7 separate regions of the Homo sapiens genome follow, and regions 2, 3, 4, 5, 6 and 7 are each linked to region 1. Evidence: promoter capture Hi-C in 16 types of primary human blood cells and fetal thymus (Javierre and others, 2016). All regions are on one chromosome and are shown on one strand. Each heading gives the region's core, a stretch centred on a gene start or on the middle of the fragment in contact. The rest is flanking DNA. Distances are from core to core; before and after follow the strand shown. Region 1 holds the start of ZNF823 (zinc finger protein 823). Region 2 overlaps ZNF791 (zinc finger protein 791). Region 3 overlaps ZNF490 (zinc finger protein 490). Region 4 has its middle 29 kb from the start of ZNF564. Region 5 has its middle 15 kb from the start of ZNF709. Region 6 overlaps ZNF709 (zinc finger protein 709). Region 7 has its middle 2.2 kb from the start of ZNF563.

Region 1 (3,280 bases), core at 254-2,753:
TTTTTTTTAAGGAAACAGTATCATTTATGCATTAGGTTATACTCAGACGTCATTTTTTTCATTCATTTTCTAAACGTGCCCATTTGTCCTGGCAGAAAATGCTATAGTTTCTAGAAGTTGATTGAAGATTTCATTTCATCTATTGACATCTCATGTTCAGCTCCTTTCTATTTAGCCATGGCTACCAGCTTCTAGTTCATAACGCTTTTTTTTTTTTTTTTTTGAGATGGAGTTTTTTTTTTTCCTCGCTCTGTTGCCCAGGCTGGAGTGCAGTGGTGTGATGTCGGCTCACTGCAACCTCTGCCTGCCGGGTTCAAGCGATACTCCTGCCTCAGCTTCCTGAGGAGCCGGGATTACAGGAGCGTGCCACCACACCCGGCTAATTTTGCGTTTTTAGTAGAAACGGGGTTTCATCATGTTTGTCAGGCTGGTCTCAAACTCCCGACCTCAGGTGATCCACCCGCCTCAGCCTCCCAAAGTGCTGGGATTACAGGCGTGAGCCACCGCGCCCGGCCATAACGCTTTTAAGTCTAGTATTTTTACTTCATAAACATATGGAGAAAGGCTAATGTTTTCAAATTCAAAGTGTGATGTCTTGGCTTTTGATTGGAGCGTTTAATTCATTAACATTTAATGGCATAAGGAGGGAGCATTTCCACGCTGTGCAGAGGGGACAGGTATTTTGAGACCTCAGAGTAAAATTCTTAATTGTCCCTCCCTTATCACCAGCTTCTGATCCACCCCGGAGCTCCATTTTAGGAATCATTGCCTGGCTTCCCAGCTTGGGGATATGTTTGACCTCCTGAAAGGGGGTCTGCTTGTGAACTGTGAGTGCAGTAGGCTGCTTCTCTGAGCTTGTTCAAGTTTTTGCTTTTCTTCTCTTTTGATTCTTTATGAAATATTGCTGCCATATAATTCCAGTTTTTCCACATACTCAACTATTTTATTTTGTTGTCCTGTTTTTATCTTCTGGGCTGAAAATGAGTAGATTGAGAGATAAGGTGAGGGAAAGGCTTGGCAACGTCGCCAACAGCCTCATCCCAAATTCCTGATCCCTGGAGGACATCAGGCCCTCCCTCCTGCTGCAGGGTGGCCTGTGTGCCCCGGGCTCCCCTCCTGCTCCGAGGTCCGGGAATGGCTCCACTGGACAGGGAGCCTGGAATTCCCTGCACACACTTGTGAGTCCCTGTCCAGGAGGAAAAAGCAGGAAGAACCCACTGAATACAATCAGGAAATTCTAAAATGCAAACGTCACTTCGGGAGGGGTCAGGTCACTCCGTTGGGAGGAAGCCCGCCTTGCCAAGGGTCGTGCCTGGAACCTGTTCATCCGGCTCCACTCAGCACTGTGAGATCGCTTCTTCTGTCAATCAGCCACCAAGGGGCGGGACCTGGAGCACTATCCAATCAGGGATGAGGGGGCGGGGATTGTGAGAACTGTCAATCAGGCACGCTGCAGGGAGGAGGGTGCGACGTTCAAAGAGCCCGCGGAGTCTTCTCCACGCCCCTGCGCTCTGAGTCCTGGCTCTGGCGCTGAGAGAGAGACGCCCTGGAAGGTCTGTATCAGCGTCTGTCGCGCTGGGACCCACACTGGCTTTTAAGGAGGACACCCGGACACCTGGAAGCTGGGAAATGGTGAGTGTGCGGGGCCCGGCGTCCCGAGGCAAAGAAGGGGCAGGTTGGAACCGGCCGGAACCGACCGTGAGGGGACCCGGGCCTCGCCCTGGGCGACTCCGGGGTCTGCAAATCCCAGTGCCCCTGGCGCAGCTCTGCCCTTGGTCCCCTGGGCCGCAAGATGGGGCTGGGGCGGCAGCCGGGACCCCGGGCGTCCTGTCCCGTCCCTGCTCGGCCGCTGCGGCCCCGGCCCCGGCGCCCTCTCTGGGCAGCTCCGCGCCCGCAGCTCCGCGTCTCCCCAGATTGTGCAGTTGTAACCGGCACAGGTTCACGGCCCGAGTCACTGCACCGAGACGCCGAAGGCTGCAGCAGAAACAGTTTAATGGGGGAGAGGGGAGGACACCCCAGATCCGCCTCCCTGAGAGGTTTGGGGATGGGGTGTTTAGAGGTGTGGACAGGGACGGCTGGAGTGTGGGGTCGCTGGTTGGTGGAGAAGTGAGAGGTGACTCCTGGGACTGGAGGTGAAGAAACCGCATTCTGCTGAGTGGGTTCCCTTGTGGGGTCTTCAGCCTGGTTGGCGCCAGCCTTTCCGCTGCAATTCAGGATCCGAGAAAGAACTGAGGCGACCCGTGAGCAACTCTCAAGAGATCTTATCCCCGGGCACGATGAGGAAGCCGGCGGTCAGCGTCTGCTGTGACCTGACTCTCAGGGAGGCGGCCCCGTGAGGCAGCGGGGCTGAGGGCACCTGGTTAATATCTAACTGCAATCTCGCCTCCAGCCTGGCTCGCAGTTCCTGTGAACCCGGTGAGGACGCTGCACGGTGACAACGGAGGGTCACCAGGCAGAATCCAGACTCGTGTGTGTGGGCTTTGTGCTTTGGAAGAGAAGCTGTGATCTGTGGGTTCCCCAGTCCCTTCTTTCTTCCCAAAGGTGACCGGTTTCCCTCCGAGTCTTCCAAAGATGTGGGCAGCAGGGTCTCAAATCCACCACCCTATCCCCTCATCCTAACTCCTCCTAGGGCTGGCAGCAAATCTCTTGGTTTTCAGAGCCTTCCCCAGGCTAACTGTCTCTCATCAATTCCCAGCAACTTTATGAACTCTTTGTCCCTCAGGCAATATTTCAAACAGAGGCATTATTTTAATTGTCACTTTCTTTTCACATAGCAATGTATGGCTCTTTTTAAAAGATGTGTTTTTGTGTTTGTGAACATTTCACATGTGAGGAAGCAAAGAATAACCACTTGACTCCAGTGTGAAAAAAAAAAAAAAAAAAAAAAAGCCGGGCGCGGTGGCTCACGCCTGTAATCCCAGCACTTTGGGAGGCTAAGGCTGGCGGATCACCTGAGGTCGGGAGTTCGAGACCAGCCTGACCAACATGGAGGAACTCCGTCTCTACTAAAAATACAAAATTAGCCGGGGTGGTGGCTCATGCCTGTAATCCCAGCTACTTGGGAGGCTGAGGGAGGAGAATTGCTTGAACCCGGTAGGCGGAGGTTGCGGTGAGCCAAGATCACGCCATTGCACTCCAGCCTGGGCAACAAGAGTGAAACTCCGTCTCAGAAAAAAGAAAAAGAAAAAAAAAATAGTGCATGTGTGGCTGTCCTTTATCTTGTCTACACAGAGATACCCGAATATTTTCAGTCGAGGTTCCTCTTTGCAAATGGCACAGG
Region 2 (3,280 bases), core at 389-2,888, 890 kb before region 1:
TGCCTGTAATCCCAGCTACTCGGGAGGCTGAGGCAGGAGAATTGCTTGAGCCTCGGAGGCAGAGGTTTCAGTGAGCTGAGATCGCGCCATTGCACTCCAGCCTAGGCGACAGAGTGAGACTCTGTCTCAAATAAATAAATAAATAAATAAGTCTATGAAACATTTATTTCTGGAATTTTCCACTAAGTATTTTTGGACTGTGTTTGACCATGAGTGACTAAAACCACAGAAAGCAAAACTTTGGATCAGAATTGACTACTGTATTACCATAATTAATTCTGAATACAGGTGTGACCGTGGTGATTGCTGGCAATAGGGCACTGAAAATACCACTGTTTTGAAGAGAATTTTGTTTTATGACAAAATGTAAGTATAAGAATAAAAAACATCTAAGGGAAAAATACCAGAACATTTATGCACATGCTAATATTGAGTCAGAATGTATCTTGACAAAATGACAAAGTTGATCTGAATATTCATAACTGTAATGGGATATTTTAATATAGCCTTTCAGGAAACGGGGAAGACAATTATTTGTTTTTGAACTAATAGAGATGGGGTCTTACTATGTTGCCCAGGCTGGTCTCCAACTTCAGGCCTCAAGCAATCCTGCCTCAGCCTCCCAAATTGTTGGGATTACAGCCATGAGCCACTGCACCCAGATGATGATAATATTTGATAGTATACATGTTGTTTGGAAACAGTTAACAAAATATTTCTAAGAAACATCTAAGAAGCTTTTGCTTCAAATAAATAAAAAATGCATTATTTTAGTTGCATACAACCAAACATAAATGAAAATAAACCGATGGAGAATATTCAGGAATAGTTGGAAACACCCACAATTTGTCTGATATGAGGAAGGTGATTATTCTCAAATGGAAGGATGGGGGAGAGTAGTCACTGTATAATGCAGTAAGAGAACAAACTCCCATATAGTTGTTTTTTTTTTTTTTTACTGTTTTACTGTAGCTGTCATGGTGGAATCAGGAATACATAGTCCCTAGTGGCATTAACAGAACAAGAACCATACAAATTAAAGCTCATAGAAACACAAAGGGAAGACAGAACCTCAGAGAACAATGCCAACCATGACAGTCTGAAATAGATGCTTGGGCCACACATGAAGGCTAGAAGGAAAATCCAAACTGTACGTGGATCTTTGATGCGGAGCTTGTGGAGACAACTGTGGAAACCAACACATCTCTTTGAGAATGGAAGTCAAGCAGCTCAGGGTGTTTTCAGGATACTTTTGATTGGCAGAGAAAATAACCAGGAAAATGAGCAGGAAGCAGGCTGTCTCCCTGTATGGTGGGGTTCCAATACCTGACTAATGTCTTCTTCACTTCTGCCTGGCAAATCTCATGCAAGTGAGGCTATAAGTGAATTTCAACATGGATCTATAAAGGGAACAGATTCTAGGAAATTTACCTGTGTCGACAGGTAGCAGGAGGGCCACGTCCAGCTCTAGATTTTATTGTCCTATCACAGGTGTCCTTCCTGAATTCAAACTCTACTATTCAAATCCCAGACAGAATTATAAAAAAAAGGCGAAAATAATAATTCGCATAAGAATATATGATAAACTTCACATACTTACCAACTTATGCCAGATGTTTAATAAAAAGGAAAATGGAATAAGGCTCTTCTAGCTGAAATTCATTTTATTTATTTATTTATTTGAGATGGAGTCTCGTTCTGCTGCCCAGGCTGGATTGCAGTGGCACGATCTCGGCTCACTGCAAGCTCCGCCTCCCGGGTTCACACCATTCTCCTGCCTCAGACTCCTGAGTAGCTGGGACTACAGACGCCCGCCACCATGCCCAGCTAATTTTTTGTATTTATAGTAGAGACGGGGTTTCACTGTATTAGCCAGGATGGTCTCAATCTCCTGACTTCGTGATCCGCCCACCTCGGCCTCCCAAAGTGCTGGGATTACAGGTGTGAGCCACTGCGCCCGGCAAGAAATTTATTATATTTTAATTTAATTTTTTTGATATGGAGTCTCGTTCTGTTGTCCAGGCTGGAGTGCAGTGGTGTGATCTTGGCTCACTGCAACCTCTGACTTCCAGGTTCAAGCATTTCTCCTGCCTCAGCCTCCCAAGTAGCTGAGATTACAGGTGCCCTCCAACATGCCCAGCTAATTTTTGTATTTTTAGTAGAGATGGGATTTCACCATGTTGGCCAGGTTGGTCTCGAACTCCTGACCTCAAGTGATCTGCTTGCCTTGGTTTCCCAAAGTGCTGGAATTACAAAGGAGTGAGCCACCGTGTCTGGCCAAGAAATTTAAAAAGCAGTTTTTCGGAAAAGGTGAAATAAATATATAATGGGTAATATATGCACCACCTTCCACATGAGGCCAGTAGGAAAAATCCTAGTTACAGTGTGTCAGTATTCAACAATCTCTTTATTCAGAGAACAACTGAAAAACTATACACAAATTAAAACTAATTGTATATTAAAAATACACTTCTACTAACACTGGTCTTTAAAAGAAAAAAAAAATACACTTCAGGCCGGGTGCGGTGGCTCAAGCTTGTAATCCCAGCACTTTGGGAGGCTGAGGCGGTCGAATCACGAGGTCAGGAGATTGAGACCATCCTGGCTTAACACGGTGAAACCCCATCTCTACTAAAAATACAAAAAAAATTAGCTGGGCATGGTGGCGGGCGCCTGCAGTCCCAGCTACTGGGGAGGCTGAGGCAGGAGAATGGCGTGGACCCGGGAGGCGGAGCTTGCAGTGAGCCGAGATCACACCGCTGAACTCCAGCCTGGGCAACAGAGCAAGACTCCGTCTCGAAAAAAAAAAAATACACTTCAGTTTACTCATGAATCAAGACATCAAGAGAAAGAGAAAAGTTTTACTAACTGATTTAATGAGAAAACACAACCTTTTAAACTTTTGACCACTGCTTAAAGAGTACTTACAGAATTATCTCACTTCCAAGACTTCTTGGAAAAGTAGTTAAGTTACAATTCATAGTCCAGAGATGTACTTGAAGAATGAGCCAGTGATAAAAAATTTTTAACTTTTTTTTGGTGTGTGGGATGGAGTCTTGCTCTGTTGCCCAGGCTGGAGTGTAGTGGCACAATCTCAGCTCACTGCAGCCTCCACCTCCCAGGTTCAAATGATTCTCCTGCTTCAGCCTCCCAAGTAGCTGGAATTACAGGTGCATGCCACCACGCTCAGGTAATTTTTGTATTTTTAGTAGAGATGGGGTTTCACCGTCTTGGCCAGGCTGGTCTCGAACTCCTGACCTCAGGTGATCTGCCTGCCTTG
Region 3 (3,280 bases), core at 551-3,050, 840 kb before region 1:
CAGCTCCATTTCCCATCTCAAACCTACACTTTGGACACTTGTTTAAACATTCACATCTGAATTTCTCTGTGGCAACCGCAGGTGGCTCTGAGGTGAGAGACTGAAGAAGCAGAGCCTGTATCATGGGACACACACCCCTTGACCACACAGCATCCACTCTCCTGCGGTTACCAGCCCTGCACCAACCACCACAGTCAGAATAATCTCAAAACTGCTAGTGGAGTCACAGACACACTCTGCCATGTCTTAGCTGTAGGACACTCAGAATTCTTACCTCCCCTAACTTGCTTTCCCTGTTTTCTGGCACATTCTACCCTGAGATATTCAGCGGCATATGCACTGATGATGCTCCGGCCTTCTCACGTCAGTGCATGTCACATGCATCCTGCTCCAGGACTGGTTTCCTAGCCTCCCGCTAAGACTAGCACTTAGCTCTTCTTGGAAAAGGACCCACCCTGCAGCGCTCCAGCTCTGTTGTGTATGGGAGGTGCTGGTGTCAGGGTTCACAAGCCATGGAACTACCTTGCTTCACATCACAAGGCAAGGTGAACTCAACTCCCAATAAACTGCTTGCTGGAGCCTCCGAATTCTCCGTTTTCTGAATTGCATAGGCACGATAGGGGTCGGGTCTGTCCTTTGTTGGAGTCAGTCCCCCCTTTTCTTAGCAAGTCAGTGTGTTTTAGAAGGGAGGTGGCAGCATTGAGGGAAACCAGGTCACCATCCACCCTCGTAACAACAGTCTCCCTGGGTGGGTCCCAGAAGTGATCTTTGTGTCGCTCGGGTCGGAACTCTTTAGGCCTCTGGCCTCCACCCTCCCCCAACAGCAGGGATGGGTCAGGTGGCAGCATCCAAAACCACGGTGAAGATACTAGGGTCCAGAGGCCGACTGGAGCAAGGTTTGCTGGCAGATGAGGCCTCAGTGGAAGTGACGGCTACTGTGGAGATGCAGTGGAGGACCTGGTGGCTGAGCCAGGAGATGCACACCTTCGCTTCTCTCACCAGGAACATTCGCTTCTCTCACCAGGAACATTTATGGTAGTATGAGGGGTTGGAACATTATTACTCAACCCATTTCAGGTCCTTTCACATTCTTGAGCTGCCATGTTGTGCTTTTGTAGAGAGATGATTATTGTACTGTGGGAGGTCAGGAAGTTCGAGATTCCTTCACTGTCAGAATGGGCTCAAGGAGCCATCTTTTGTGATAGGTATTGGGGAACTAAGGGGTATCTCTGCTACAGGAATGGGAGTGAGAACATTCACTTTTTGAAGGACAAGTATATGTGGGTCTATGATGATGTTTTTGTAAAACCCTTTTGTGTATGTGTCTGTGTGAGTCCTAATATTCAGTAAGTATTTTCCTCTGTGTAACTCCCTCTAATAGGTGTAGTCAACAAAGCTGTGCTAATATCTCTGTCCCCTTGATCCTGGCATTCTGGAAGACACGAAAGCAAGCAAGGATATATAAGGCACTGTGGTGGTTATTCCCGAGGAGCCAGAGAAACCTGGAGAAGAGATCAGAACACCTGGGGTCCTTCTATTTGGGAGAATCTTTTAGTATCTGGGCTGTTACACCTGTGGGTTTGTGAATTTGTGTCTGTCCACCTGTATGTACAGTGATAACGTGTGTGATTTTTGTATATTTGTCTAGAGGGCTGTGTGTATATATATTTATATATATTTTTAAATATGGAATGCTTTTAGGTTTTTTTTTTTTTTTTTTTTTTTGAGATGGATTCTCACTGTTGCCAGGCTGGAGTGCAGTGGCACAATCTTGGCTCACTGCAACCTCCACTTCTCAGGTTCAAGCAATTCTCCTGCCTCAGCCTCCTGAGTAGCTGGGACTATAGGCGCGTGCCACCACAACCAGCTAAATTTTTTTGTATTTTTAGTAGAGATGGGGTTTCACCATGTTGACCAGGATGGTCTCAATCTCCTGACCTTGTGATCCACCCACCTCGGTCTCCCCAAAGTGCTGGGATTACAGGCGTGAGCCACTCTGCCTGGCTGGTTATTTTGTTTGTTTGTTGTTTTTTTGAGACACAGTCTCGCTCTGTCACCAAGCTGGACTGCAGTGGCATGATCTCGGCTCACTGCAATCTCTGCCTCCCAGGTTCAAGCAATTCTCCTGTTTCAGCCTCCTGAGTAGCTGGGATTACAGGCGCGTGCCACCATACCGAGCTAGTTTTTTTATTTTTAGTAGAGACGGGGTTTCACCATGTTGGCCAGGATGGTCTCGCCCTCCTGACCTTGTGATCTGCCTGCCTCGGCCTCTCAAAGTGCTGGGATTAGAGGCTTGAGCCACCAGGCCCGGCTGGAATGCTTGCATTTTCTTGCCTGATTTCCCTGGGAGCACCCCCCTTAACACTGAATGGAGCTGGTGAGAGCAAATATCCTTGTTTCTGATATTAGATATTAAAAATATGGTTTTTCACCATCAAAGATTTTATTGAGTTTTTCATATATGCCTTGTAGCAATTTGAGTAAATTATATTCCTTGTTTGTTGCAGATTTTTAATCATAAATGGGTGTTGAATTATGTCATGCTTTTTTGCATCAATTGAGACTGTCATTTTTCCGTCATTTCCTAATGTGGTGTATTCCACTGATCAATTTCCATATGGTGAACCATCCTTACATTCCAGGGACAAATCTCACTTGGTTATATTGCATAATGCTTTGAATATATTGCTTTATATGCTTTGCTGGCATTTATTTCAAGATTTTTGCATCAGTACTCATAAGGGACAGGAATGCCATCTTCCTTGCTCTCACGCCATGTCACACTTGCTTGAGAGCCCTGCATTGTTCTCTCTGATACCTCATTTTTGTAATAAGCCTTTTCATACTCTCGGTGTGTGTGTGCACCACATAGCTCTCGGTGTCAACCTCTGAAGCACACCTTTTCAGGCAACCGTAACAGTTGGCACTGTCAGCAGGATGTCTAGATGTTGGTCACCATGCAATGGGTCAGCTTTCCCTTTCTCTCAGGTGCTAACCTGCTCTGCTACCTGGTGGCCAGCATGCTCTTTGAGCTGCTGCTGCTTGCTGCTCTGTGTTCCATTGCTGAGGCCGAACAAACTTGTGTTCCAGATTTAGCCAACCGAAGATGGCAGTTTCTATAAGTCTTTGGCATTTAGGAGCAGGAGTATCGGATTTGGGCCCTCCTTAAAATGGTCTGGGCTAGGAGTTTTCACTTTGCCTTTCTATGTAGAATGAAGCTGGGACTGATGCTAGGTGTTGGCCTTGTCCTGTAGGTCTGGTGGTGGGGGCTGGTGGTGAG
Region 4 (3,280 bases), core at 414-2,913, 780 kb before region 1:
AAAGGGAGAAAAGACCACAGTACTGCATAGACCTTGTGGGACCTTCAGCATACCAAGACACTCTAGGTCTCTCTTTTTTTTTTTTGAGATAGGGTCTTGCTCTGTCGCCCAAGCTGGAGTGCAGTGGTGAGATCTTGGCTCACTGCACCCTCTGCCTCCCAGATTCAAAGGCTTCTCATGCTTCAGCCTCTTGAGTAGCTGGGATTACAGGTGCGCACCACCACACCCAGCTAATTTTTGTATTTTTAGTAGAAACGGGATTTCGCCATGTTGGCCAGGCTGGTCTTGAACTCCTGATCTCAAGTGATCTGTCCGCCTCGGCCTCCGATAGTGCTGGGGTTACAGGCGTGAGCCACTGCGCCTAGTCTCTAGGTCTCTTTCCTACTTGTTCTCAGCACTGTTTTTTTCGTTTTTCTATCCATGAGGGACCTGTTCCTACACAGTCCATTTGGATTTTAGTAGGCATTTAGATTTGATCCCCAGGATTGACTTCCCTGTCTCCTCCCCCCTTCACTGTAGACCTGGACCTCACTCCCAGACCCAGGGCCTATGATAACCACTTCCCTTTATTGAAGAGGGATACTTTTAATTTCCTCTGCACACTATTCACAGACATGTATATCAAATATATATCTGATAATTTAAGCAAATAGAAATTCTTTGCTCGGAAATCTTTAAGAATATGAGAAGAAATAGCAGCATATAGTGTCCAGAAAAGGTGGGAGAGAACTTCTTAGGTATGGAAAGTTTATGTAATAGGTAATGTGTAACTATTTACCACTAATTCTGTACCTGGGGTAAAGGTGGTGTTCAAGAAATGGAGAGCCAGGCCTGGTGTGGTGGCTTATGTCTGTAATCCCAGCACTTTGGGAGTCCGAGGCAGGCAGATCACTTAAGGCCAGGAGTTCGAGACCAGCCTCGCCAACACAGCGAAACCCTATTTCCACTAAAAACAGAAAAATTAGCTGGGTGTGGTGGTGCACACCTGTAATCCCAGCTACTTGGGAGGCTGAGGCAAGATAATTGCTTGAACCTGGGAGGCAGAGGTTACAGTGAGCTGAGATCACGCCACTGCACTCCAGCCTAGGTGACAGAGCCAGACTCCATCTCAAAAAAAAAAAAAAAAAAAAGCAGTGGATAAATAAGTCACTGCTTGCACAATAAAGAAATAAATGGGCCAGGCACAGTGGCTCATGTCTGTAATCCAGCACTTTGGGAGGGTAAGGCGGATGGATCACGAGGTCAGGAGTTTGAGACCAGCCTGGCCATCATGGTGAAACCCCAACTCTACTAAAAATACGAAAAATTAGCCATGCATGGTGGCTGACGCCTGTAATCCCAGCTACTCAGGAGGCTGAGGCAGGAGAATTGCTTGAACCCAGCAGGCGGAGGTTGCAGTGAGCCAAGATTGCACCACTGCACTCTAGCCTGGGCGACAGAGTGGGACCCCATCGCAAAAAAAAAAAAAAAAACAAAAAACAACTCTGCAAGGAAATGAAGCAAGTGATCCCTCTTGGAGTGGATTTCATGAAGTACCTTTAAATGGCAGAACATCAGGTTTCCATTTCCAAAATTATTTTTCTTCATGCTCTGACTGAAATAGTGACTGGTGTTGGAGAAACGGGTGGAAGATAGCGTAATAAACCAAATTGTTCTTTCTAGTGGGGAAAGCATGAATCACCCAAAACTAATAATCACGGAATTTACTTACATGGTATGGAAGAATAAGCAACCATAGAAGAAATCAGAATAGTTGTCACAGAACTAATTTACAAGCATTAGTGCTGTTTCCCAGGCCAGGTTCTATCTTGTTCTCAAGGAATAGTTACATCTTCAGTGTAAATTATGGGTACCATTGAGAGAAGTTTTACTTTCTACTTTATGAAAATGATGATGATGACAATAATACCGCAACATGAGTACTGCTAATGGAAACACTTTATGCCCAGGCACAGTGGCTCACGCCTGTAATCCCAGTACTTTGGGAGGCCGAGGTGTGCAGATAGCTTGAGGTCAGGAGTTCAAGACCAGCCTGGCCTACGTGGTGAAACCCCGTCTCTTATTAAAAATATAAAAATCAGCCGGGTGTGGTGGTACACGCCTGTAATTCCAGCTACTCGGGAGGCTGAGACAGGAGAATCGCCTGAACCTGGGAAGCGGAGATTGCAGTGAGCTGAGATCATGCCACCGCACTTCAATCTGTGTGACAGAGTGAGACCCTGTCTCAAACAAAACAAAGCAAAACAAAACGCTTCAGACAGAATTACTGTCAAGCACGTCACGATGCACCTTCTGTGGGTTATCTTACTACATTTTACCTGTCTACTGATGCCCCAGCGTGGCCACAGCCTGAACTGCAGCACCTTCCTGCAGATACCCCTTTTTTAGTGAACAAGTAAATGCTGCTTCTAGTCCCCTTGGTACTAGGTCTGTGCAGAGCACAGAGAAAGATGAATCCAGCCAGAGACTGCCCCAGAGTAACTCCCAGAGGTGGAATGAGTGAGATAATGCTGGGATTGAGATGTTTGATGTAATCTCATGTCTGTTTTTGCTTTTGCTGCCCGTGTGTTTGAGTTCTTATCCACAAAGTCCTTGCACAGACAAGGTCATGTAGAATTTTACTGTTTTCCTTTAGTAGTTTTACAGTTTCAAGTCTTACATGTAAGTCCGTAATCCATTTTGAGTGGATTTTTGTATATGGTGAAAGATAGGGGTCCAGTTTCAATGTTCTGCATGTTGATAATCCAGTTTTCCCATCACCATTCATTGAAGAGACTGTCCTTTCTCCAGTCTGTGTTTTTGGCACCTTTGTCAAAAATCGTTGGTAAGTGTGTGAATTTATTTCTGGTTTCTCTATTCTGTTCCACTGGTCTGTCTATGTTTATGCCAGTACGGTGCTTTTTTGGTTACTTTAGATTTGTAGTCTATTGTGAAGTCATACTCAAGATTGCTTTGGCTATTTTTGTGGTTCCATATGAATTTTAGGATAATTTTTTCGATTTCTGTGAAGTATGGCTCTTGTATTTTGATAGGGATCACACTTGAATCTGCAAATTGCTTTGGGTGGTATGGACATTTGAAGAATATTCTAAGCTGGGCATGGTGGCTCACATCTGTATTCCCAGCACTTTGGCAGGCAGAGGCAGAAGGATCACTTGAGCCCAGTAGTTTGAGACTAGCCCAGGAAACAGTGAGACCTCGTCTCTACAACAAATTTTTAAAAAATTAGCTGGGCGTGGTGGTGTGTGCCTGTAGTCCCAGCTGAGGCAGGAAGGTTACT
Region 5 (3,280 bases), core at 257-2,756, 760 kb before region 1:
CCCAGTGTATTGGTTAACAGATTTTCTTATCTTTTTTTTTTTTTTTTTGAGACAGGGTCTCTTGCTTTGTCACCCAGGCTGGAGTACAGTGACATAATCACTGCTCACCACAGCTTGGACCTCCCAGGCTCAAGTGATCCATGTAGTGGGGAATATAGGCATATGCTGCCACACCCAGCTAATCGTTTTTACTTTTTTTTTTTTTTTTTTTTTTTGAGATGGAGTCTCACTCTGTCGCCCAGGCTAGAGTGCAGTGGTGCAGTCTTGGCTCACTGCAAGCTCCACCTCCCAGGTTTACGCCATTCTCCTGCCTCAGCCTCCTGCGTAGCTGGGACTACAGGCGCCCGCCACCACGTCCAGCTAATTTTTTGTATTTTTAGTAGAGACGGGGTTTCACCGTGTTAGCCAGGATGGTCTCGATCTCCTGACCTCATGATCCGCCCTCCTCGGCCTCCCAACGTGCTGGGATTACAGGCGTGAGCTGCTGCGCCCGACCTCATTTTTACTTTTTTTTTTAGATGGAGTCTCGTTCTGTCACCCAGGCTGGAGTGCAGTGGCGCAATCTCAGCTTACTGCAACCTCCACCTCCCGGGCTCAAGGGATTCTTCTGCCTCAGCCTCCCAAATAGTTGGGACCACAGGCACACACACCACACCTAGCTAATTTTTGTATTTTTAGTAGAGACAGGGTTTCACCATGTTGGCCAGGATGGTCTTGAACTCCTGGCCTCAAGTAATCCACCTGCCTTGGGCTCCCAGAGTGTTGGGATTACAGGCATAAGCCACTGTCCCCAGCCTAATGCAATCTGTGTGCCACAGCCTCCCAAAGTGCTGGGATTATAGGCTCCTGAGCCCAGCTGTCTTCCTTAAACATTCCTTTTTTTTTTTTGAGACAAAGTTTCGCTCTTATTGCCCAGGCTGGAGTGCGATGGCATGATCTCACCACAACCTCCGCCTCCCAGGTTCAAGTGATTCTCCTGCCTCAGCTTCCCGAGTAGCTGGGATTACAGGCGCCACCACCACGCTTGGCTAATTTTATATTTTTAGTAGAGACAGGGTTTCTCCATGTTGGCCAGGCTGGTCTCGAACTCCTGACCTCAGGTGATCCACCCGCCTCGGCCTCCCATAGTGCTGCGATTACAGGCATAAGCCACCGCGCCCGGCCCAAACATTCATTCTTATCTAATGACTCCAAATGTTTACTCCTTTAGCCAACTGTAAATCAAAGAACCTCTGAGTCTACCTATAACCTGTAAGCCCCCGCTTCAAGATATTCTACCTTTTCAGGCCAAATCAATGCCTACCTTCCATGTACTGATTTATGTCTGCCTGCAACTCCTGTCTTTCTAAAATGCATAAAACCAAACTGTAGCTGGGTGCTGTGGCTCGTGCCTGTAATCCCAGCACTTTGGAAGGCTGAGGCCAGCAGATCACTTGAGGCCAGGAGTTCAAGACCAGCCTGGCCAACAGGGCAAAACCCCATCTCTACTAAAAATACAAAAAATTTAGCCAGGCATGGTGACGCAGGCCTGTAATCCCAGCTACTTAGGAGGCTGAGGCACAACAATTGCTTGAACCTGGGAGGCTGAGGTTGCAGTGAGCTGAGATTGTGCCACTGCACTCCAGCCTGGGCGACAGAGTGAGACCCTGTCTCAAAAATACCAAATAACTGTAACCTGGCTGCCACTGGTGCACTTTCTCAGGACTTCTTGAGACTGCGTTTTCTGGGCCGTGGTCACTCATACTGACTCAGAATAAAGCCTTAAAATATTTGAGAGTTTGGTGATTCCATTGACAGTGGGCAGCTGTTAGAAAGAAGAGGGGGGTTGACACTGAATCTGCCAACAGTCAAATACCAGAAAGGGTGGAGTCCAACTACTCATTACAAGAGCAAACATGGATAAGAAAAACATGCATTTGCAATTGCTTGTTTTTGTTGTTGTTGTTGTGTGAGACGGAGTTTCACTCTTGTTGCCCAGGCTGGAGTGCAATAGCGTAATCTCAGCTTACCACAACCTCAGTCTCCTGGGTTCTAGTGATTCTCCTGCCTCAGCCTCCCGAGTAGCTGGGACTACAGGCGCCCGCCTCCTGAGTAGCTGGGACTACAGGCACCCGCCACCACGCTCAGCTAATTTTGTATTTTTAGTAGAGACAAGGGTTCTCCATGTTGGTCAGGCTGGTCTCGAACTCCAGACCTCAGGTAATCCGCCTGCCTCGGCCTCCCAAAGTGCTGGGAATACAGGTGTGAGCCACCGCGCCTGGCCTGCAATTGCTTGTTTTAATAAAGAAACACTAATAGGATGCACAAGGAATTACCAAAAGTTTTTACGAAGGGCGGGGTGGCTGGAGCAAGAATCCTGGAATGAACCAGGATATGCTTGACAGTGAGTCTTATGTTAGATTTTCCTGTCTCATAGATTTTTTTTTTTAACCTTCACATGTATTATCTCTCTAAAATGAATGGAGGCCTGGTGCAGTGGCTCACACTTGTAATCCCAGCACTTTGGGAGGCCGAGCTAGGAGGATCACTTGAACTCAAGAGTTCAAGACCAGCCCGGGCAACCCTGCCGGTTGGTGAAACCCTGCCTCTACAAAAAATACAAAAATTAGCCAGGCATGGTGGTATGTGCCTGTAGTTCCAGCTACTCAGGAGGCTGAGTTGGGAGGATCACTTGAGCAGGGGAGGCTGAGGCTGCAGTGAGCTATGATCGATCGTGCCACTGTACTCCATCCTGGGTGACAGAGCAAGACCCTGTCTAAAAATATACATTAAAAAGGCCGGGCACGGTGGCTCACGCCTGTAATCCCAGCACTTTGGGAGGCCGAGGCAGGCAGATCACCTGAGGTCAGGAGTTCGAGACCAGCCTGACCAACATGGAGAAACCCCATCTCTACTAAAAATACAAAAAGATTAGCTGGGCATGGTGGCACATGCCTGTAATCCCAGCTACTCGGGAGGCTGAGGCAGGAGAATCACTTGAACCTGGGAGGTGGAGGTTGCTGTGAGCCAAGATTGTGCCATTGCACTCCAGCCTGGGCAACAAGAGTAAAACTCCGTCTCAAAAAAAATAAAAAATAAAAAAATAAAATGAACGAAGATATTTATCTGCACTATATTTTACTATTAAAGTCTTTAAATAATGTAGTTTTTTTTAAATTTTAAGTTGTCTTCATTAAGATTTAATCCTTTATACACTTTTAAAAGTGTAAACTATACGAAATGTAAAATTTCAAATCTTAAGAGAATCTGCATCATAGCATGTCTGTCCACTGTATCTCAC
Region 6 (3,280 bases), core at 515-3,014, 720 kb before region 1:
GGGAAAGCCTTCAGTTTTCCTAGTTCCTTTAGAAAACATGAAAGAATTCATACAGGAGAGAAACCCTATGATTGTAAGGAATGTGGGAAAGCATTCATTTCTCTTCCAAGCTATCGAAGACATATGATAATGCACACTGGAAATGGACCTTATAAATGCAAGGAATGTGGGAAAGCCTTTGATTGTCCTAGTTCTTTTCAAATCCATGAACGAACTCACACTGGAGAGAAACCCTATGAATGTAAACAGTGTGGTAAAGCCTTCAGTTGTTCCAGTTCCTTTCGAATGCATGAAAGAACTCACACTGGAGAGAAACCCCATGAATGTAAACAATGTGGTAAAGCCTTCAGTTGTTCCAGTTCTGTTCGAATACATGAAAGGACTCACACTGGAGAGAAACCCTATGAATGTAAACAGTGTGGTAAAGCCTTCAGTTGTTCCAGTTCCTTTCGAATGCATGAAAGAATTCACACTGGAGAGAAACCCTATGAATGTAAACAGTGTGGTAAAGCCTTTAGTTTTTCTAGTTCCTTTCGGATGCATGAAAGGACTCACACTGGAGAGAAACCCTATGAATGTAAACAATGTGGTAAAGCCTTCAGTTGTTCCAGTTCCTTTCGAATGCATGAAAGGACTCACACTGGGGAGAAACCCTATGAATGTAAACAGTGTGGTAAGGCGTTTAGTTGTTCCAGTTCCATTCGAATACATGAAAGGACTCACACTGGAGAGAAACCTTATGAGTGTAAACAATGTGGTAAGGCCTTCAGTTGTTCTAGTTCTGTTCGAATGCATGAAAGGACTCACACTGGAGTGAAACCCTATGAATGTAAACAATGTGACAAAGCCTTCAGTTGCTCACGTTCCTTTCGAATCCATGAACGAACTCACACTGGAGAGAAACCCTATGCATGTCAACAATGTGGTAAAGCCTTCAAGTGTTCCCGTTCCTTTCGAATACATGAAAGAGTTCATAGTGGAGAGTAACCCTATGTATATAAGCAATATGGCAAAGTTTTCAGTTGTCCTATTTCCTTTTTTTTTTTTTTTTTTTTTGAGTTGAATTCTCACTCTGTTGCCCTGGCTGGAGTGCAGTAGAGTGATCTCAGCTCACTGCAACCTCTGTCTCCTGGGTTCAAGCGATTCTCCTGCCTCAGCTTCCTGAGTAGCTGGGACAACAGGTGTGAACGACCATGCCCACTTAATTTTTGTATTTTTAGTAGAGATGGGGTTTCGCCATGTTGGCCAGGCTGGTCTCGAACTCCTGACCTCAGACGATCCACCTGCCTTGGCCTCCCAAAGTGTTGGATTACAGGTGTGAGCCACCACACCCGGCCCCCATTTCCTTTTGAAGACATGAAATTATTCATATTTCAGAGAAACCCTATAAGACATGGGAATACCTTCAGTTATTTACATGTGAATATGAGGAAGCATTCATACTGGACAGGAAACCCTGCGAATGTAGGCAGTGTGGGAAAACCTTCAATGGTCATATGACCTTTTAAGGACCATGAGAAGGCATATGAAGTGTAAAGAATTTTCATATGCCCTATAAATGTAAAGAATTTATAACCTTAAAAATGTAAAGAATGTGGAAAACCCTATAAATGTAAAAAATGTAGAAAAACCTTTATTTGTCTTAGTTTACTTGGAAACCATGAACAAACTCACACTGGAAAGCGACTTCTTAAATATAGACATTGTGAGAAAGCCTTCAGTTGGCCCACATACTAATATGTGAGAATGCAGACTGGATAGAAATCCTATAAAAGTGAGATATAGCAATGTTTTCCATTTTAACAAATGCTCATGTGATACTCCCTTATGTGTGAAACTTCAATCTCATGTTGAAACTCCCACTAGGGAGGTACTGTATAAATGTAGATAATATGGGAAAGCCTGATGCAAATTAATTCATGTATATTGTTCTAGAAAATTCACAACATGTCAGAAATGTGATAAAACATATTATCAGTTACTGATTCTTAAAATGGATCTCTGAATTATGGATTTCTATTACTTTCACAAAAGAACACTGAGATGAGATAATTCTGTAAGCTCTTATACAGTTGTACACAAGTTGAATTGATAGTATTTTTTCATTAAATCAGTTTCTGAAATTTTGTCTTTCCATATTGAAGTCTGTTAGATTCATGAGTGAATTGAAGTGTATTTATAATAAGCTAGCAGTTTTGATTTTTATGTATTTTTTAGTTGTGCTGTAATGGGCCATCAAAAAATGACAATTTGGTAATTTTTAGGATTTCCTACTGGCCTTATGTGGCAGGTACTAGATATCATTATATGTATTTCATCTTTCTGACCAAAAGAGGCTTTTTTAGAGGAAGACAGAGTACCCTTTTTTCTATTTTTTATGCTAAAAAATAATCATAATAAATTTTTGAGTCTGCAAAGTTTATCATACAGTATACTCTCTCATTGGAATTATTATTTTCATCTTCTGTTTGCTGTTTGTAATTCCTTCTGGCTGTGATTTGAATAATAGACTTTGTATTAATAAGAGAGATCTGAGATAGAACCATATAACCTATAGCTGGAAATGGCTGTCCTGGATTGTGTTAACATGGGTTATGTTGTGACCTATGTTTTCTATAATCTAACCTTTTATGGCTCCACGGTATAATTCACCAATAGCCTACTTGCAGGAGATATGGAAGGCAGAAGTGAAGAAAGCATTAGTCAGGTTTTATAGCCACCATATGTGGAGACAGATGGATGCATAGGAGCTTCAGGGACACCTGCTTCCACCACATTGTCCTGATCCTTTGCTCTGCCAATTGAGAGTATTCTTAGAACCACCACTAACTGCTTGACTGCCATATTTTCCTTCCTTCCTTCCTTCTTTCTTTCCCTTTCCCTTTCTTTTCTTTCTTTACTTTCTTTTTCCGAGATGGAGTCTTGCTCTGTCGCCCAGGCTGGAGTGCAGTGGTACGATCTTGGCTCACTGCAACCTCTGCCTTCTGGGTTCAAGCAATTGTCCTGCCCCAGCCTCCCAAGTAGCTGGGATTATAGGTGCCCACCACCAAGCCCAGCTAAATTTTTTTTGTATTTTTAGTAGAGACAGGGTTTCATCATTGTTGGCCAGGCTGGTCTCAAACTCCTGACCTCATGATCTGCCCACCTTGGCCTTCCAAAGTGCTGAGATTACAGGCGTGAGCCACTGTGCATGGCCCCAGCTGCCATATTTTCAAAGATGTAGTTTTCCACAAATTGTCTTCAAAAGTTCTACTCAAAGATGCACTGCAGTTTGGATTTT
Region 7 (3,280 bases), core at 456-2,955, 600 kb before region 1:
TTGGGAGGCCAAGGTGGGTGGATCATCTGAGTCTAAGAGTTTAGACCAGCCTGGCCAACGTGGTGAAACCCTATCTTTACAAAAAAATACAAAAATTAGCCAGGCATGGTGGGACATGCCTGCAGTCCCAGCCTCTCGGGAGGCTGAGGTAGGAGGATCGCTTGAGCCCAGGAGGTTGAGGCTGCAGTGAGCCATGATGGTGCCACTGCATTCCAGTGTAGGTGATGGAGCGAGAGCTCGTCTCAAAAAAAAAGAGAGAAATAAGCTAACTGTTGTGGTAAGGGGTGACATTAATATTATTCACACATCCTTTCTCTGGTGCGGATTTCTCAGGGTTGTGCTGAGACCTCCAGTATTTACAGCAGCTGATAGTCACTTAGAATATTCTGTCTGTGCCCTCACTGAGCAGGTAGTGACACAGGTTAAGAAGAACAGAAGCAAATAAAATGGATGTGTCCTCACCCAAGACATTACTATCTGAGAAGACTGTTTCAAATGAATAAATGAAACTGTGGGCATGAGAACCACAGGTGAATTCAACCTGGGCCAGTTTGCTTAAAAGGAAAATGTATTTGTACAATACTTAGGATTTAGATACAGATATGACTGTTTGGGTCAATGGTGTGGGCTGGGGTTGAGAGGGGGTTTCAGATGGATAAATGGGACATGTCCATCCCCAGGCACAGAGCACATGATGTCAACCCTGAGCTATGAAGGTCAGGGAGTGACTGAAGCCAAGGAGAGAGGAGAGCTCACATTTAATTAGTTGTTTTACACAACAGTTTGCTAAGGTAAAAATAATAGTTTGTTAGCATGTTTGTTTCTCAACAGAATAATTATTTACCAGTTGGTTTTGTTTGCTTGTTTGTTTTTGAGACGGAGTCTCGCTCTGTCGCCCAAGCTGGAGTACAATGGTGCGATCTTAGCTCACCACAACCTCCACCTCCTGGGTTCACGCGATTCTCCTGCCTCAGCCTCCTGAGTAGCTGGGATTACAGGCACGCACCACCATGCCCAGCTAATTTTTAGTATTTTTAGTAGAGACGGGGTTTCACCATGTTGGTCAGGCTGGTCTTGAACTCCTGACGTTGTGATCTGCCCGCCTCAGCCTCCCAAAGTGTTGGAATTGCAGGTGTGAGCCACCGCGCCTGGCCTTGTTTTGTTTTTGAGGAACCAAGATCTCCCCGTGTTGCCCAGACTGGTCTCCAATTCCTGGGCTCAAGCAATCCTCCTGCCCCTGCCTCCTAAAGTGCTGGGATTACAGGCCCAAGGCACCATGCCCAGTCCATTTACCAGTTTCCAAATCCCTATTAAATATCTTATATATATTTTTTCCACTACTTTATATATAGACACAGGAAGAAACCCAAGATTGTCAATTTTTTATTCAAACAGTGGAATTGAGGGTCTTTGTTTCAATTAACTCATCAGTGCTGGTGAGAAGCAAGTGAAGACTCTTACAGAGGCCATGGGGAACATTCCCTTTTGCCCTCTGATGTTTTGCTGAATTAATTGGAGAGAAGGCAGATTAATTGGAGGAAAAGCATACAAATTTTATTTAACGCGTATATCCAGGAAGCTTCAGAATGAAGACCCAGAGATACAAAGGAAATTGTTCATTTTAATGCTTAGGCTTAATGTATGGACAGCCGTGTAGAAATGTGATTAGATTGAAAGAGTATGATCCAATGCTAACAGACTGAGTGGGGAAACCCAACAAGGCCTGTGTGTCTAGATTGTTCTTGGCCTTTCTGAGCATGCATTCCTTCCTTCTCAGTATGAGGCAGGACCCACTCTGAAATGGAGGGTCTTATGACCTACAGCAAGCTTGTCCAACCCATGGCCCAGGAAGGCTTTGGATGCAGCCCAACACAAATTCATGATCTTTCTTAAAACATTAGGAATTTTTGTTTTTGCTATATATTTTTAAGCTCATTAGCTATTGTTAGTGTTAGTGTATTTTATATGTGGCCCAAGACGATTCATCTTCTTCCAATGTGGCCCAGGGAAGCCCCAGGGCCACCCTGACCTGCAGTCAAACAAAGTTGGACAGTTAATTTGCTTATGGCCAGTTTTTACACAGAAAGGACAATGGAAAGTTAGAGTAGTATGTTTTGATTTTATGCCTGGATTTAGGGGAAAAGGGTTCTGGATTCTACGACCCACTTTGGAGAAGAGAGATTCTAGTTTCTAAGGCTAGCCTTGGATAGAAGAGTAGGACTAAGAGTCCCAAGAATGGGACTAAGTTTTTCCTCTGCCCTCTGTGGAGAAAAAACTTTTGCTTCTGAGGCTTCTTCCAAGGTCTTCTTTTTGGGGTATTGTTTTCTGAGCCCCAGCCACCTGGAGTGGGCAGCAGAGTTTGAACCAGTGACTCTACACCGAGCCCATTCTGAAGGCTGCAAAGGGAGAGAAATGGAGCCCCCTTTGGTGCTTCCTCAGCAGCCTGCGCACGCCTCCACGTAGCACGAAGCTGCACATAGAATCAGAATTTACCATTTATGTGTTAGGAAAATCTGGGTAAAGGGTTTATGAATTTGACAGTTTATGTAGGTCAGTACCTTAAAGTAACCTTTTTTTTTTTTTTTTTTTTTTTTTTGAGACCAGGTCTCACTCTGTCACCCAGGCTGGAATGCCGTGGCACGATCTCGGCTCACTGCAACCTCCGCCTCCCAGGTTCAAGTGATTCTCCTGCCTCAGCCTCCCGAGTAGCTGGGATTACAGGTGCCCGCCACCATGCCCAGCTAATTTTTGTATTTTTAGTAGAGATGTGGTTTCACCATGTTGGCCAGGCTGGTCTCCAACTGGTGACCTCAGGTGATTCACCCGCCTCGGCCTCCCAAAGTGCTGGGATTGCAGGCGTGAGCCACCGCCCCGGGCCCTTAAACTAACTTTACATGAAACTTTCCTGTTGGTGAAAATGCACATCTTGACGGTGGGGGCATTTCCACACTCTGCAGAGGGCACAGGGAAGTATGTTGAGCTCCCAGAGTCAAATCCTTCAGTGTCCCAGTCTCATCACCAGGTTTTGGTTCACTCTGGGGTTCCATTTCAACAGTTAAGAGTGGCTGCCAAGTTTGGGCATATGTTTAGCCTCCTGAATGGGACGTTTGCTGAAGTATGAGGGCAGCAGGCTGCTTATCTGCACTAGTTCAAGTTTTTGCTTTTTTTTTCCTGTTGTATTTTTGTTTTGATTCATTCATTCATTTATTGCTGCCGTGTGATTTCAGTTCTTCCACACATTTGATATTTTAATACCGTTCTTGACTTGTTTTTATTTCCT

Evidence for each region. Contacts are between HindIII fragments. The CHiCAGO score rates a contact against its expected background, and 5 or more counts as called.
Region 2: a contact is called between a fragment that was not itself captured here and the fragment with the promoter of ZNF823 in region 1, in 1 of 17 cell types (erythroblasts). The highest score is 5.2, in erythroblasts.
Region 3: a fragment that was not itself captured here is called in contact with the fragment with the promoter of ZNF823 in region 1 in 1 of 17 cell types (neutrophils); the score reaches 5.6 in neutrophils.
Region 4: a fragment that was not itself captured here is called in contact with the fragment with the promoter of ZNF823 in region 1 in 1 of 17 cell types (M1 macrophages); the score reaches 5.6 in M1 macrophages.
Region 5: a contact is called between a fragment that was not itself captured here and the fragment with the promoter of ZNF823 in region 1, in 1 of 17 cell types (neutrophils). The highest score is 6.6, in neutrophils.
Region 6: a contact is called between a fragment that was not itself captured here and the fragment with the promoter of ZNF823 in region 1, in 1 of 17 cell types (non-activated CD4 T cells). The highest score is 5.1, in non-activated CD4 T cells.
Region 7: a fragment that was not itself captured here is called in contact with the fragment with the promoter of ZNF823 in region 1 in 1 of 17 cell types (total CD8 T cells); the score reaches 5.0 in total CD8 T cells.

What each region holds. Positions count from the first base shown.
Region 1 is chr19:11,737,169-11,740,448 of GRCh38, reverse strand. It overlaps ZNF823 (zinc finger protein 823), which reads left to right and starts at 1,503. Exons shown (of 4, transcript NM_001080493.4): 1 at 1,503-1,632. The coding sequence starts at 1,630. RefSeq lists silencers at 1,325-1,519, 1,780-1,929 and enhancers at 1,530-1,609, 2,000-2,129. The HindIII fragment of the contact is 8,001 bases long and covers 1-3,280 here.
Region 2 is chr19:12,631,497-12,634,776 of GRCh38, reverse strand. ZNF791 (zinc finger protein 791) reads right to left here. Exons shown (of 4, transcript NM_153358.3): 4 at 943-3,280. LOC105372279 (a long non-coding RNA gene) reads left to right here. Exons shown (of 4, transcript XR_007067142.1): 4 at 289-1,638. Among named protein-coding and RNA genes, the nearest start is that of ZNF791, 22 kb to the right of the region's middle. The HindIII fragment of the contact is 1,798 bases long and covers 740-2,537 here.
Region 3 is chr19:12,575,259-12,578,538 of GRCh38, reverse strand. ZNF490 (zinc finger protein 490) reads left to right here. Exons shown (of 5, transcript NM_020714.3): 5 at 1-2,439. Among named protein-coding and RNA genes, the nearest start is that of LINC02926, 25 kb to the right of the region's middle. The HindIII fragment of the contact is 7,779 bases long and covers 1-3,280 here.
Region 4 is chr19:12,521,259-12,524,538 of GRCh38, reverse strand. No RefSeq gene overlaps it. Among named protein-coding and RNA genes, the nearest start is that of ZNF564, 29 kb to the left of the region's middle. RefSeq lists a silencer at 2,210-2,504. The HindIII fragment of the contact is 5,681 bases long and covers 1-3,280 here.
Region 5 is chr19:12,498,151-12,501,430 of GRCh38, reverse strand. No RefSeq gene overlaps it. Among named protein-coding and RNA genes, the nearest start is that of ZNF709, 15 kb to the right of the region's middle. The HindIII fragment of the contact is 4,354 bases long and covers 1-3,280 here.
Region 6 is chr19:12,461,703-12,464,982 of GRCh38, reverse strand. ZNF709 (zinc finger protein 709) reads left to right here. Exons shown (of 4, transcript NM_152601.4): 4 at 1-3,280. The coding sequence ends at 987. Among named protein-coding and RNA genes, the nearest start is that of ZNF709, 21 kb to the left of the region's middle. The HindIII fragment of the contact is 3,846 bases long and covers 1-3,280 here.
Region 7 is chr19:12,334,185-12,337,464 of GRCh38, reverse strand. It overlaps a transcript of ZNF563 not described here. Among named protein-coding and RNA genes, the nearest start is that of ZNF563, 2.2 kb to the right of the region's middle. RefSeq lists an enhancer at 2,911-3,280. The HindIII fragment of the contact is 248 bases long and covers 1,582-1,829 here.